2 separate regions of the Homo sapiens genome follow, and region 2 is linked to region 1. The links are contacts of gene promoters, found by promoter capture Hi-C in human tissues and cell types (Jung and others, 2019). All regions are on one chromosome and are shown on one strand. Each heading gives the region's core, a stretch centred on a gene start or on the middle of the fragment in contact. The rest is flanking DNA. Distances are from core to core; before and after follow the strand shown.

Region 1 (7,220 bases), core at 3,221-5,720:
CAAAAGAAGACATTTATGCAGCCAAAAGACACATGAAAAAATGCTCATCATCACTGGCCATCAGAGAAATGCAAATCAAAACCACAATGAGATACCATCTCACACCAGTTAGAATGGCTATCATTAAAAAGTCAGGAAACAACAGGTGCTGGAGAGGATGTGGAGAAATAGGAACACTTTTACACTGTTGGTGGGACTGTAAACTAGTTTAACCATTGTGGAAGACGGTGTGGTGATTCCTCAAGGATCTACAACTAGAAATACCATTTGACCCAGCCATCCCATTACTGGGTATATACCCAAAGGATTATAAATCATGCTGCTATAAAGACACATGCACACGTATGTTTATTGCAGCACTATTCACAATAGCAAAGACTTGGAACCAACCCAAATGTCCATCAATGATAGATGGGATTAAGAAAATGTGACACATATACACCACAGAATACTATGCAGCCATAAAAAAGGATGAGTTCATGTCCTTTGTAGGGACATGGATGAAGCTGGAAACCATCATTCTCAGCAAACTATCGCAAGGACAAAAAACCAAACACCACACATTCTCAGTCATAGGTGGCAATTGAACAATGAGAACCGTTGGACGCAGGAAGGGGAACATCACACACCGGGGCCTATTATGGGGTGAGGGGAGTGGGGAGGGATAGCATTAGGAGATATATCTAATGTAAATAACGAGTTAATGGGTGCAGCACACCATTATGGTGCACGTATACATATGTAACAAACCTGCACATTGTGCACATGTACCCTAGAACTTAAAGTAAAAAAAAAAAAAAAAGAAAGAAAAAAAAAAGAAACAGAAGTCATGATAGACAGAGGTTTTTGCTTCGGGTCCTGAACTGATTCAAGCTAAGCATTCACCCACGGAAGGTTGATTGATACTGGATCTGTGAGAAATACAAAGATTGGGGACCTAGGTCACCTTCTTGGGGCCTCCTACAAGCAGGGGAGTGGTAGAAATACCTCTGATGAGCTAACAATGTAGATTTCCATGACAGATGCCACTTCTGAGACTGTGAATCTAGAATGCTCTGAAGACTTGGCTAAGAGACAACAGCCACTTACTGTCATCATCGTTCAGGGATGAAGTAAAGGAGATGAAAACTAGGACATTCTCTTTGACTAGCATCAGTTATGAAAGATGAATAAGTTCAGTAGGTCTAATGTACAGTAATATGACTATAGTTAAAAACACTTTATCATATACCTGAAATTTACTGAGAAGGTAGATCTTAAATGTTCACACCAGAAAAATAAAAAGGAAATGGTAACTAAGTGACCTAATAAATATGTTATTCACAATCAATATATATATCAGAGCATCACCTTCTATACCTGAAATGTACACAATTTTTGTTTGTCAATTATACCTCAATACAGCTAGAAAAAAACGTATTTAGTTGATCTATTTAATTATTACAAAAATATTCTTATCTTCAACATAAAACTTGGGAATTTTCTGAACAAAAAACACTAATTCTGTGTTGCCTGCTCTATGATGGGTACTGGATAAATGCTTTGTGTACATTATTATTAACTATTTAACAAACTTTCAAAATAGGTATTAATGTTCCCCTTGTAGAGATGAGAAATTTGAGGCTGAGAGAGTTAACGTATTGTCATAGATTAGTTTCTCCCAGAAGAGACTTTGAAGAAAATATTCCAGGGAAACTAGTTTACTGAGAAGTGCAGATCACACCGGTAGGGACTGGGGAAGTGATACAGAAGAAGGCACACTATTAAGTCAGTATCACAGTCACCAACTAAAGCTTAAACTAAAGGGAAAACTATCAGAAATGATGAAAAACACACAGCTAGAATTACCCTACTTCAGGAATGAGGAAGCTAAAGTCTTTATAAATCAGCTCTCCAGAATCATTGGTTGAGTGTTTTTCTCTGTGTTGCATTCACAGGTGGCATGACTTTCTACAGCTGCAATACAAGAGCCCTTAGGCACAGAGATGCAGATTTTGACAGATGGAAATTGATCCAAGCACAGTAACATCCAAGATATATGGGTGCAGTCATGAAAACTTGTCTACAATCTACAATTAGCTCCACTCAAGTCAAATATTTGCTACTTAAATAGGATGGGCAGCCACAACCTCTAGGAGAAGGAAGAAGAGGAAGAGAGGAAGCAGAGGAAGAGAAGGGACAGAAGATGAGAGGAGAAGGAAAGAGAAAAGAAGGAAAGAAAAACAGAAAGACAGAGAGAAGGAAGGAAGGAAAGAAGGAAGGAAGGAAGGACAGGAAGGAGGGAGGGAGGGAAAGGAGGGAGCGGGGAGGAACTGAGGGAGGGGAAGGAAGGAAGGAAGGAAAAAAGAAAGAAAGAAAGATAAAAAGAAAGAAAGAAAGAGAAAGAAAGAAAGAGAGAGAAAGGGAGAGAGAAGGGAAGGGAAGGGAGGGAGGAAGGGAGGAAAAAAGGAAGGAAGGAAGGAAAAGAAAGAAAGAAAAGAAAGAAAGAAAGAAAGAAGAAAGAGGAAGGAAAGGAAAAGAAAGGAGAGGAAGTGAGATATAAAACGAAGGCCAATTAAATAATCTACACTTACTTCTGCTATAATACAGTGCACCTAAGTTTCATAAACTCCGTTAATTACCAAGAGTTCTATTCTCCCTTCACCCCTGGCCAGCACTCTTGTTGGTCTAGATAACTGCTGATAGAGTAGCTCAGAGCATCCTTCCTGAAGGGTCTGAGCCCCTGGTTACTATACCATTGTCCACCGTGATTGTTGTTTTTACTCATTTGTGGTTATCACTAGGCATGGACACACTGTGAGATTCTGCAGTGTTATGGGTTCATTTGCGTCCCTCAAAATTCATATTCAAATAGAATCATCTAAAGTGTTATCTGATAAGACAAGGTCATATTGGAAACAATTAGGCCTCTGATTAAATATGACTGTGTCTATTCACAAGGGAGAAATTCAGAGACAGTATGGATATAATAGAAAAATTATGTCAAACACACTTGGAGATGATAGACTTTGACACGTCAGGGAGAGAGACGTGGAACAGATACTTCCCTCGCAGTCTTCAGATGAAAACAACATTGCCAACACCTTAATTTCAGAAAAGAGGCCTTCAGAACTTTGATAAATAAATTTAAGCCACTTTTTTTCAGTAATTCATCAGGGCAGTGCTAGTAAATTAATATACTCAGTAAATCTCCTGAGCTATAGATATATTCTGCTACACTATATGGCTTGAGGGTAATTATCCCTCACCAAATAGTAACTACTTTCTCTGTCTGCTGCTTTGCTTATATGAAGAGTCCAAAATGACTAGGCGATAAAGATTACTTTTGTTTATGCCAAAGAAATAGAGAAGCAAATACTATACTTTTTATTCACATGAAAACTTTAAAAAACCAAAAATTACCTACAGGATTACAACTGATAGAGTGATTAGCTGTCTTTGGGAATGAGTAAGAGCATATAATTGGGAGAGAATGGAATTAATTTCTATTTCCTAACATAGATGTAATGGGGACACAGATGTATTTACAATATAATACTATATCAAGTTGAAAATTAATAATTTGCATTCTTCTCAAATGAATGGTATACCTAGAAAATGTTTTAAACATGTTAGAACTCCATGATGAATCAGGCATCATCTCAACTCATCTAATTCCTTCATTAAAAAGAAATAGAGAGAGAGAGAGAAGACATGCTGCTTACTGTGCTAGTAACCGGGTTGCGACTAGAGCCACAGCACATGCTGGTTGGCCTGAATCTCAAGCATTTATGCCATAGAGAGTCCTACATTCTCATTCTGGAATCGCCACGCTCACAGACAAGTCAGAATGAATGGTCACTCAGGGCATAGATTACTTGATGCTGTCTAAATCCCAGTGGATTTATCTGCATCCACCTGCTCTCGATCTGCTCTGCCACATGGAACACACTGTGACAAACACCCTCTTCCCAAGTGATGTTCAAAGAACTGAAAGACAGGTGGTGTGGGTTGCACAGAGAGATGCCTGCTAGTCTTGAGTCAGAATTTGGTGGGTGACTAGTCTTGGGCCCAGGCATGGATTCATTTTGTCACTGTAAATATATCAGCATCATGCTTCTCCCCACAGACACTTCCCAGTCTACATACAGCCAAACATGAGGCTGGCCAGAGAGAACTTCCTGAGCCTCCCAGATCAACAGGAACTATCACATGACCAGATGATGGTCAGAACAGGAATGATGCTGATGATGAGATTGCCTTCCTTTTATCTGAAACAAAGTGTCTATGAGTAATTCACAATTAAGAAACAGATTAAACCTTAATCTGTTTAACCTTAAGGAAACAACTACCCTTTGAGAATCACAAACGGACTGGGAAAACAATGTAAACGGAAACAAGGAAAAGTCCTGCTGATTGGTGGAAACTTTGGAGGCCAGGTGTATAAAAGGTCCAGATTGCAAGGGGTCATCAGATTCTGGGAAACTCACCTCTGAACAGAAGCCCACCCTCTACCCCTGACACCATGACCCACTGTTGCTCCCCTTGCTGTCAGCCTACATGCTGCAGGACCACCTGCTGCAGGACCACCTGCTGGAAGCCCACCACTGTGACCACCTGCAGCAGCACACCCTGCTGCCAGCCCTCCTGCTGTGTTTCCAGCTGCTGCCAGCCTTGCTGCCGCCCAACTTGCTGTCAAAACACCTGCTGCCAGCCCACCTGTGTGACCAGCTGCTGCCAGCCTTCCTGCTGCAGCACACCCTGCTGCCAGCCCACCTGCTGTGGGTCCAGCTGTGACCAGAGCAGCTCCTGTGCACCTGTGTACTGCAGAAGAACCTGCTACTACCCCACAACTGTCTGCCTGCCTGGTTGCCTAAACCAGAGCTGTGGCTCCAACTGCTGCCAGCCCTGCTGCCGCCCAGCCTGCTGTGAGACCACTTGCTTCCAGCCCACCTGTGTGTCCAGCTGCTGTCAGCCTTTTTGCTGCTGATCAAGTCCCAAGAGAACCACCATCCTCACACAACAACTTTCTGCTCAACTGACTTATCTTTTGGGGGACTAATTTAATTTGCTGCTGACAGCCACCATGCTCTCACCCAAATTTTTATGAATTCTCTACCTGTTTAAAATCTTGGGAATCTACTTGAGGGAGGGCAGAATACTTCATCCTGATTCTCTTTTTCCTTACACTTTGTGGATCATGTGCCAGCTTCGTGTGTTCTCAATTTTGAGTCATGGTCTCAGCTTTGACTCAAAAGTCAAGAGCTTCATTCTCTGCTTCTAAGGAATTTAGGTTTCTGCAACTGATCAATAATCTTTGCAATCATATTTTTGTTTTCAATATCCTCCTCATGGTTCTTGTATCCTTCTTTCTTCTTTTCATAACTTTGGGTTATGTTTCTGCTACCAGCAGAGATTCTTAGCTATATGTTTCTGAATAAACTCTGAACCATCCTCATCTCATATGGTGTTTTGTTTTATATGAAAGCATTCCTGATATGAGATTTACACACATATCACATACCATAGGTATTATCCAATTTGATTCTCAAAACAGATGGTCGTGTGTTATTACCTCCATTTTTTCAGCTGAGAACAATTTAATGTGTGATGTTATGTAGCTAGTAAAGGGCAGACTCTTGTCCAAGCTGAGGTCCTCTCTTTCTGCCCAAGGACACTTACATTTAACTCTCAATATAGTAGAAATGACATTGGAAGTAAGTATTAGCAAGTCATATACTTGAGTTTTTTTAACAATAGGACAAATAATCTCTTATATTTGCAGATAACGTTTTTGTTTACAAAAAATTCCCAATTTCCCACACCTCAGTGAGAAACAGCTGCGTGATATGGCAGCAGGGACTGCATTTAATGGCTGCCCTGAATGCAGGGAGCTCTTTTTGTCTCAGCCTCTGACCAGCCACTCATTCAATTCATCTACATCAAAAAAAGCTTGGGAATTTATTGTGGACTCATGAGAGAGAGTCTCATCTGAAGAAACTTGTTGTCAATATCATGTAAATAAAATACTTATACAGCCTTCATCTCCTGAATACCTATTGATGAAGTAAATGAAACTAAGTTATTTCTTGTAAAATGCAGACCATACATTTTGCCACATTAAGACAATTTGTCCCCTAATTGTAATGTTATGAGGGAAATTATGTAAGAACAAAGCTGAGAATTGAGAAACTACACAATGGGCATGTAAGACTTGGCACAATCCATAATCTCTGAGCCAAGTAAGGGAATGAAACAGCCTTCTGCATTTTGTGAGGCCAATAGGAAGCATTCAAAGAAATGAAAAACTTGTGTTTCCAGGGAAATCAGAAGAATGTAAGAAAGGAGCAAAGTAGAACTTGTGCATTCATAGAAGTCATAATAGACAGAGGTTAGTGCTTTGGGTCCTGAACCGATGTAAGCTAAGCATTCACCCATGGAAAGATTGATTGATACAGGCTCTGAGAGAAATATAAAAGTTGGGGACCTGGGTCACCTTCTTCGGACCTCCTACCAGCACTGGAGTGCTAGAATTACCTCTGATCAGCTAAAAATGTAGATTTCCATGACAGATGCCAACTTCTGAGACTGTGAATCTAGAATGCTCTGAAGACTTGGCTAAGAGACAACGGCCACTTACTGTGATCATCGTTCAGGGTTGAAGTAAAGGAGATGAAAACTAGGACATTCTCTTTGACTAGCATCATTTATGAAAGATGAATAAGTTCAGCATGTCTACTGTACAGTAATGTGACTATAGTTAATAACACTTTATCATATACCTGAAATTTACCAAGAAGGTAGATCTTAAATGTTCACACCACAAAAATTAAAAGGAAATGGTAGCTTCGTGACCTAATAAACATATTATTCACAAGGAATATATATATCAGAACATCACCTTGTATACCTGAAATAGATACAACTTTTATTTGTCAATTATACCTCAATACAGCTAGGAAAAAAAGTATTTAGTTGATCTAGTTAATTATTACAAAAATATTCCTATCTTCAACATTAAAATTGGTAATTTTCTGAACAAGAAACACTAATATGTTCTGGATTGCCTGCTATAGGATGGGTATTTGCTAAACACTTTGTGTACATTATTATTAACTCTTTAACAAACTTTCAGAATAGGTATTAATATTCCCAGCGTAGAGATAAGAAAATTGAGGCTGAGGGAGTTAACATAATGTCATAGATTAGTTTCTCCCGAAAAGACTTTGAAGAAAAGATTC
Region 2 (7,220 bases), core at 1,730-4,229, 480 kb before region 1:
ATCTTGGCTCACTGCAGCCTCTCTTCCTGTGTTCAAGTGATTCTCCTGCCTCAGCCTCCTGAGTATGTGGGATTACAGGTACATGCCACCACACCCAGCTAATTTTTATATTTTTAGTAGAGATGGGGTTTCACCATGTTGGCCTGGCTGGTCTTGAATTTCTGACCTCAAGTTATCCACCTGCCGTGGCCTCCCAAAGTGCTGGGATTACAGGTGTGAGCCACTGTGCTTGGCCGGCATGGTCATATTTTAAATATTCTCAAGGTAGAAATAATTATTTGTATAAGGTCTGAATATTTTCAATTGAAAATCAACATTTGCAAGATTTAAAAAAATTCCTCTATTGTAAAAAGGCATTTTTCAAGTTTTGGAATTGGTGAGTTTAGGGACAGAATTCTTGATATTTAATATATTTTATACTTTTAGTCATATGTAAATGGTTATACGTACTTGGTGTTATATGTATTTTTATATCTGTATTGACTTATACATATTCACACATATATTCAATTCAATGGCGATTCCTACGTACCACAGCCATGAGGGACTGAAGTTCTATTTCCAGGGTTTGCAGATTGCGTTTTAATTCGGTCAGCTCATTTCTGGCTGCTGTGGCTGCTCCCTCATGATCGGAAATCTGTTGTTGCAGCGTTGCACTCTGAAGTGTAATTGTCGAAAGGGTTAGTGACTGGCCTGATTGTCTCCTGAGCAAGCCCTTTGTAATTTGCCATAGACCTACCCTCTCGTTGAACCAGGCTTCAGCATCTTTGCGGTTCTGCTCAGCCAAGTCCTCATACTCAGCCCTCATGTTGTTCAACAGGACAGTTAGGTCCACTCCTGGGGTTGCATTCATCTCCACGTTCACGTTCCCCCCAGCTGTATATTGCAAGACTTCCATTTCCTAGAAAAGGGATCGGTATTCATCCTCAGTGGAGGATTTTGATTGATGTTCATGCCCTGCTACGAAATGAACAGTGGACTTCAAGAAGGAAATTAGAAACTGTATGAAGCCACTCTGCAGGCTTCCTTACCTCCTCATGACTTTTTTTGAGGTAGGTCAATTCCTCACTGAGGGTCTCACACTGTATCTCCAGGTCGGTTGTACAAAGGGTCAGTTCATCCAACACTCTGCGAAGACCACTGGTGTCGGCCTCAACACTGTGGTGCAGAGCCAGCTCATTTTCATACCTGAAAGATTAGTAAGGCACCTGAGAGTTGTCATCGTAGGCAGGTGCAAAGCACAACTTTTTAAGGTATTTCATATGCTGAAAGATATGATGTTCTGTACATACCTCTGAAGCTTCTTGCAATGGCAAACTGCTAAAATGGTTTGAGATACCTAACAATTCATGAATTGTATTTTGGGGATGTTATTTCTTCAGAGCTGATTTTTGTCATCCAATGTGCTTAACAATTAAATAAAATATTGCTAGATTTTAGATTTTAAAAAATATGTGATTGCTCTTTTTTGTTGTTTGTTTTTGAGACAGTCTCACTCTGTCACCCAGACTGAAGTGCAGTGGCCCCATCTCAGCTCACTGCAACCTCCACCTTCCGGGTTCAAGTGATTCTCATGTCTCAGCCTCCCAAGTAGCTGGGATTACAGGAGTGAGCCACCATGCCTGACTATTTTTTTGTGTGTGTACTTTTAGTAGAGACGGGGTCTTGCCACATTGGCCAGGCTGGTCTCAAACTCCTGACCTCAAGTGATCTGCCTGCCTCAGCCTCCCAAGGTGCTGGGATTACAGGCATGAGCTACTCTATCCAACCATGATAGCTCTTTTTATAACGGCTTATTTAATTCAATTTCTTTATTGATCTAGTCTGGCTTTAGAAAAACATTTTGGTTTTCAAAGCAAAATATATATTCCTTAATCCAATTGTAATATTTTAACTTTTATTAATATAATTAATCAGTTTGTTTTCACCTACTTCAGCCTGAAGTCATCAGCGGTCAGTCTGGCATTGTCATTTTGTAGAACAATGCTGGCATTGCAGATGGTCGCAGAAATAATCTAAATAGGGAAGATTGTGAAAAATGTTAATTACCAAAAGTCAAAGGAGGCTCCAGACTTCAGTGTGATTTTATATCTTCTTAATCTGTCAAACATCTGTTTTAGTATCTTTTTTCTATGTTAAAGAAATCTGGATTTTCTTCAGATAATAAGCATCCAGAGCTTAAGAGCCACATAGATACTTTTACTACTTTTGATCAAATGGTATGAGCTAAATATATGAAAAACGAAGTGACTATATCTGTTTTGAAATGATTTCTTTTTCATTATTTAATTCTACAAGATTTTATTGCCAGGTACTGTGCTTAGCACTGGAAATACAGAGTGAACAAATCTTACATCACATAAATTTGTTAGGCACATTTTATATTTTCTCTTCTTTAAATTATCAACACACAAAGTCTGTAGTAAAAGTATGCAAATCCCTATTTCTTACCTGCCTTTTAAGATCTTCTATGACTGAGAAGTATCTGCTATAGTCATGATCGTGTTCCCGGGAAGAGCCAGGCTCACATTTCTCGTACCAGCCCTTGATCTTCTGCTCCAGGTCTGCGTTGGCCTCCTCTAGAGCATGCACATGGTCCAGGTAGGATGCCAGGCGGTCGTTGAGATTCTGCATGGTCACCTTTTCATTCCCAGAGAGGAGGCTGTGCTCATTGCCAAGAAAACCAGCACAGGCACCACTTCCCAACCCTCCACCGCTATTGCAGAAGCTTCCTCCAGAAGAGATGCCCTCAAGAGTACAAGAAAAGCTGCTTCTTGCTCCCGATCCAACACACACATTCCCAGCCACGAAGCCTGTTCCTCCACCGGACAGCCTACCAGACCCAGTTCGCGAGCAGATCCTCCTGGATCCACCAGAAAGTCGAAAAGACATGGTGGCAGCACAGCCGGGCAACCCCTTCCCAGAAAGAGGAGCAAAGCCAGGGTTCACCTTCCACACTTGTTAGCTCCCTTGGCCTTTTATAGTATTCACTGGGTCATTTCAGTCTTGACTATGCCAGTCTGTAATAAAATTTACTTGCATCCTAATTGTTGTTTTTCACAATTGGGTAATTTTTAACAGCGTCCAGTCTGTAGGTGGAAAGGTGCCCCAAGGATATTTTTTATATATAAAAATGGTGCCAGGTGAAGTAAAACTAAATCATAGCCTCAAAGGCCAAAATTAAATATGACTAAATGTGCATCTTTTTGGCCACTGGAATATTAATAGAATCTAGATTCTCCCCCTGCCACATATAACAAAGAATTAATAATTCCAATGAGAAATGTCTCCTACTTTTGTCCTGTTAACGCTCATAGAGTATTTCTAGTATTCCCACTTCATTGAGTGCTTCCTTTCTTCCTTTCGTTTCTTTTTCTTTTTTCCTTTTTTTAAAGATATGTGGTCTCGCTATGTTTCCCAGGCTGGTCTCGAACTCCTGGCCTCCAGTGATCCTCAGCCTCAGCACCCAGCTCAGCCTCCTGTGGCCAGCATTACAGGTGTGAGCCACTGCCCTGGGTGTCTGGGTGTGTGTTTTCCTTCTTATCAAAACCAGAAAATCTCAGCATCTATTGATCTTTTGGTAGTGGGAGATTTTAAAAGAAATCTACCATTTCTTGAATTGAAAACTGAAGTAATAGAAATCCTGCAGTCCTGCTTATTGTTAATTTCAATATAATTCATGAATATGTGATGATGGTGGAGAATTAATTCGATTGAGATTTCTTGGTTTGGTCCAGGAGCAGGACATCAATTCAACTAACAGTCTCCAAATTGTTCACTTCCCTACCCCTAAATAGTGTTTACTGTCTTTTAGTTTAAATGTATGTATTTAAGACATTAGGAATTATTTTGAGAAGTGAGCATCATATTGATTAGCAAGGAGTAAAATATATAAGGAGGGAGGTGTTTTCATCATTACCTAGAAAACCAGTACTTATAGTACCCTAGAGAGAAGATAAGTTGTCACAGGGAAGTACTCTTTATTCTCTTGCCTTGATGCTCTTGGGAAGTTATCCAGGCTTGGATCATTTCCCTACTGGGCAAATGAAAATAATAGCATCAAAGAGTCTCAAATGAATGTTGAGCAGTTCCAATCATGAATGACGATAAGACAGTTTGAAAGGCACAAACATTTTTAAATGTTAATTATTTAAATTATTATAATAAAGTGGACATGTCAGACAGGGTCGGGTCTCTATCACCTATAATGATACAAATTGATTGGTTAACTAATTATGGGTTTAGTTTTGAAACAGTAATTTTCTTCCGAATGATATTTTTCAATGTTGTGGATAGTGAATCCTTTGGAAAACATCCAACATTATTGTCACTAAATCGTATGGAACATTTAGTGGACTGCATGGATTTTCTAAATCAAAAATATTTAAAAATAAATAATAAATACAGAGCTATAACTGGACCATCAGCTTATGTTTAGAACAGTGCATGATAACCTAGATACAGTTCCTGTTTAGAGACTTTTTACTGATTTTGTTGTGACCTGGTCAAATTTTTAATCTTTTGCTAATTTTTCCCAGAAATAAAACAAGAAAAACAGAGAGTATTGTCAGTTTAATGATTTATAAGGCTTGAGTTTCTTAGGTGAGTTATTATGAGATTTCAAAGTATTATTAACATAATCTATTTATCTCTAGATACTTTATAAATACAAATTATCTTTTGTGAAACAAGTTAAACACATATTATTAGGACTATTTTGGAGATGAGTTGTCTCTGAAGCTAAGTGGCCACACAGATTACAAAGCATTTCTATATCAAAGCAGGACTGGAATATATGATGCTTAACTCCTTCTTGAAATGTTGTCGCCTATTTACTCACGTGAGTAGGTCTTTTAAATTATTTTAATCATAGATTTTCCTCTAAACTAATACTTATTTTAAAAATTTAGGTATGCTCTAGTTCTTTCTGGAAGTGGAGACAGATTTAACACATTCTCTGGACCACTTCAGTCTATACATTTCTTCCCCGGGATTGATTATTTTATCCATGGCAAGAATGGATGTACATAATAGATCATTTCTTGATAATCTACTAGATAGTAGAACATTACATGATGTGCATACGTATTTTAGATATTCAAAATGAATCGAATTAAGCTTTATGCAGTGTTGCTGTCTCCTTATTTCAGGATAAAGTTTTTCATTACATTATCTTATTCTAATGATCATATGCTAATTTTCCCCTGATACATTTATTGTTTAGTTTCAAGTACACTGTTGTTTAAAATTCACATTCTATATTTATGTTAGATAACCATTTTTCTTGAACTTGAATGAGGTTTGTTTTGTCACTAGATTCCTAATTTTTGGTTTTGTTTTTTGTTTTTTTTTTTCCTGAGAATCAGATTCTGGTATACTAAGTCCGCCCACAAAATGGCTTCCCTGGTTTGTTTTGGGAAGAAGGAGATACTGATGTCTCTGCTAATCTCAGACCGACTGGAGTGAGCATGCACGTAGTTTCTTTATCCCTTCTCTTGTTATAGGGAAGGTGGAGTCATAAAGTTCTCACTAGCATGGTATTATGTCGTGGTGAAGCACCAGACTCTGAGCTATTCTGTGTGGTTTACGTATTTCAGCACTTCATGTTATTACTGTGTGATCTTGGGCAAATTATTCAACCAGTCTCTGCCTCCGTTTCCTTATCTGTAAAACGAGGACGATAACAGTACCTACCTCATAGGGTTGTTGTGAGGAATAAATGATGCTTAGAACAGAGTCTAGCACCTAGTAAGTGCTGGTTATCAACTATTATTGACTCTTTCCTGGAAGTCATATTTAAAGGTTTTAAATATTGGCCTGGTTTTAGCAGAAAGAATTTATTTCCTGAGTTATGGTGAGTTGGTGGTCAGGCGTTTCAAATACTGTGAAATCTGAGCTAAGTATTCGGTGGCTCACGCCTGTAATCCCAGCACTTTGGGAGGCCGAGGCAGGTGGATCACGAGGTCAGGAAATCGAGACCATCCTGGCTAACACGGTGAAACCCCGTCTCTACTGAAAATACAAAAAAATTAGACGGGCGTGATGGCAGGCGCCTGTAGTCCCAGCTACTCGGGAGGCTGAGGCAGGAGAATGGCTTGAACCCAGGAGGCGGAGCTTGCAGTGAGCCAAGATGGCGCCACTGCACTCCAGCCTGGGCGACAGAGCGAGACTGTCTCAAAAAAAAAAAAAAAAAAAAAAATTAAAGACTTTTTAGTATTACCGTTTACTCTTAGTGTTGTATATTCTACGGGTTTGGAAAATGTATAATGACACGTATCCGTTCTTATGATATTATCCAGAGTATTTTCACAGCCTTAAAAATCCTCTGTGTTCTGCCTGTGCATCCCTCACCTCCAATTTCTGGCAGCCAATTATCTTTTTACTATCTCCATAGTTTCGCCTTGTACAGAATGTCATATAGTTGGGGTCATACAGTATGTAGCCTTTTCAGATTGGCTTCTTTCACTTAGTAATATACATTTAAGGTTCCTCTGTGTCTTTTCATGGCTTGATAGCTCATAGCTTTTTAGCACTAAATAATATTTTGTTGTCTAGAGGTACCACAGTTATTTATCCATTCGTCAACCAAGAGGACATCTTGGTTGCTTCCAAGTTTTGGCAATTACGAATAAAGCTGTTATAAACATCTGTGCACAGGTTTTTGCGTGAATGTAACTTTTCAACTCTTACGTGGTAGGATGTTTCCTTTTCCTAATTTTGATATGAGGGTATATGATGTGAGGACTGGTTAATTAAAAAGTTAAGTGAGAGGGTATCTGCCTTACATTCGCTTAGGTATTATTACATGCGTGTGGGAAAAAGAGGAGGAAAGACAGCTTGAAAGTGACTGTGTTTCAACTGTGCTGAGCCAATTCTACAGAGTTCAGTAATAGGACACTGGTTCCAGAGAAAAACAGGCTGTTTCTGTTACGGGATTGGTGAGGGGGAGCCAAATCTCTCACCCACAAATAAACCTCTGGAGGGTTTTCTGCTGAGTTTAACCTCCTCCCACTCCCAGCCTTGAAATAGATTCATTAATGGTAGGTGCTGAAATTATTGCACTAAAAGTTACCTTTGACTTGAGAGCCACATGGCTCTGCAGTCTTGGATGGCAAAAACGAAGGAGAGAACTTGTGAATTCCTACCGTTATGGTGGAGTGATCAAGATTATGAATTAGATGCCTGCTGGAATTCTCCTCTTACCCTTGTCCTCACAGCTC

What was found. The method cuts DNA at HindIII sites, captures the fragments that hold promoters and counts their contacts. A contact is called where the count stands out against the background at its distance.
Region 2: the fragment with the promoter of KRT26 here is called in contact with the fragment with the promoter of KRTAP9-4 in region 1 in 1 of the 25 tissues and cell types used here (IMR-90 fibroblasts).

What each region holds. Positions count from the first base shown.
Region 1 is chr17:41,245,217-41,252,436 of GRCh38, forward strand. KRTAP9-4 (keratin associated protein 9-4) reads left to right here and starts at 4,471. Exons shown (of 1, transcript NM_033191.3): 1 at 4,471-5,437. The coding sequence starts at 4,505. The coding sequence ends at 4,969. RefSeq lists an enhancer at 4,198-4,752. The HindIII fragment of the contact is 7,447 bases long and covers 1-6,628 here.
Region 2 is chr17:40,769,222-40,776,441 of GRCh38, forward strand. KRT26 (keratin 26) reads right to left here and starts at 2,980. Exons shown (of 8, transcript NM_181539.5): 1 at 2,452-2,980; 2 at 1,933-2,015; 3 at 1,032-1,188; 4 at 740-901; 5 at 533-658. The coding sequence starts at 2,892. The HindIII fragment of the contact is 6,204 bases long and covers 2,015-7,220 here.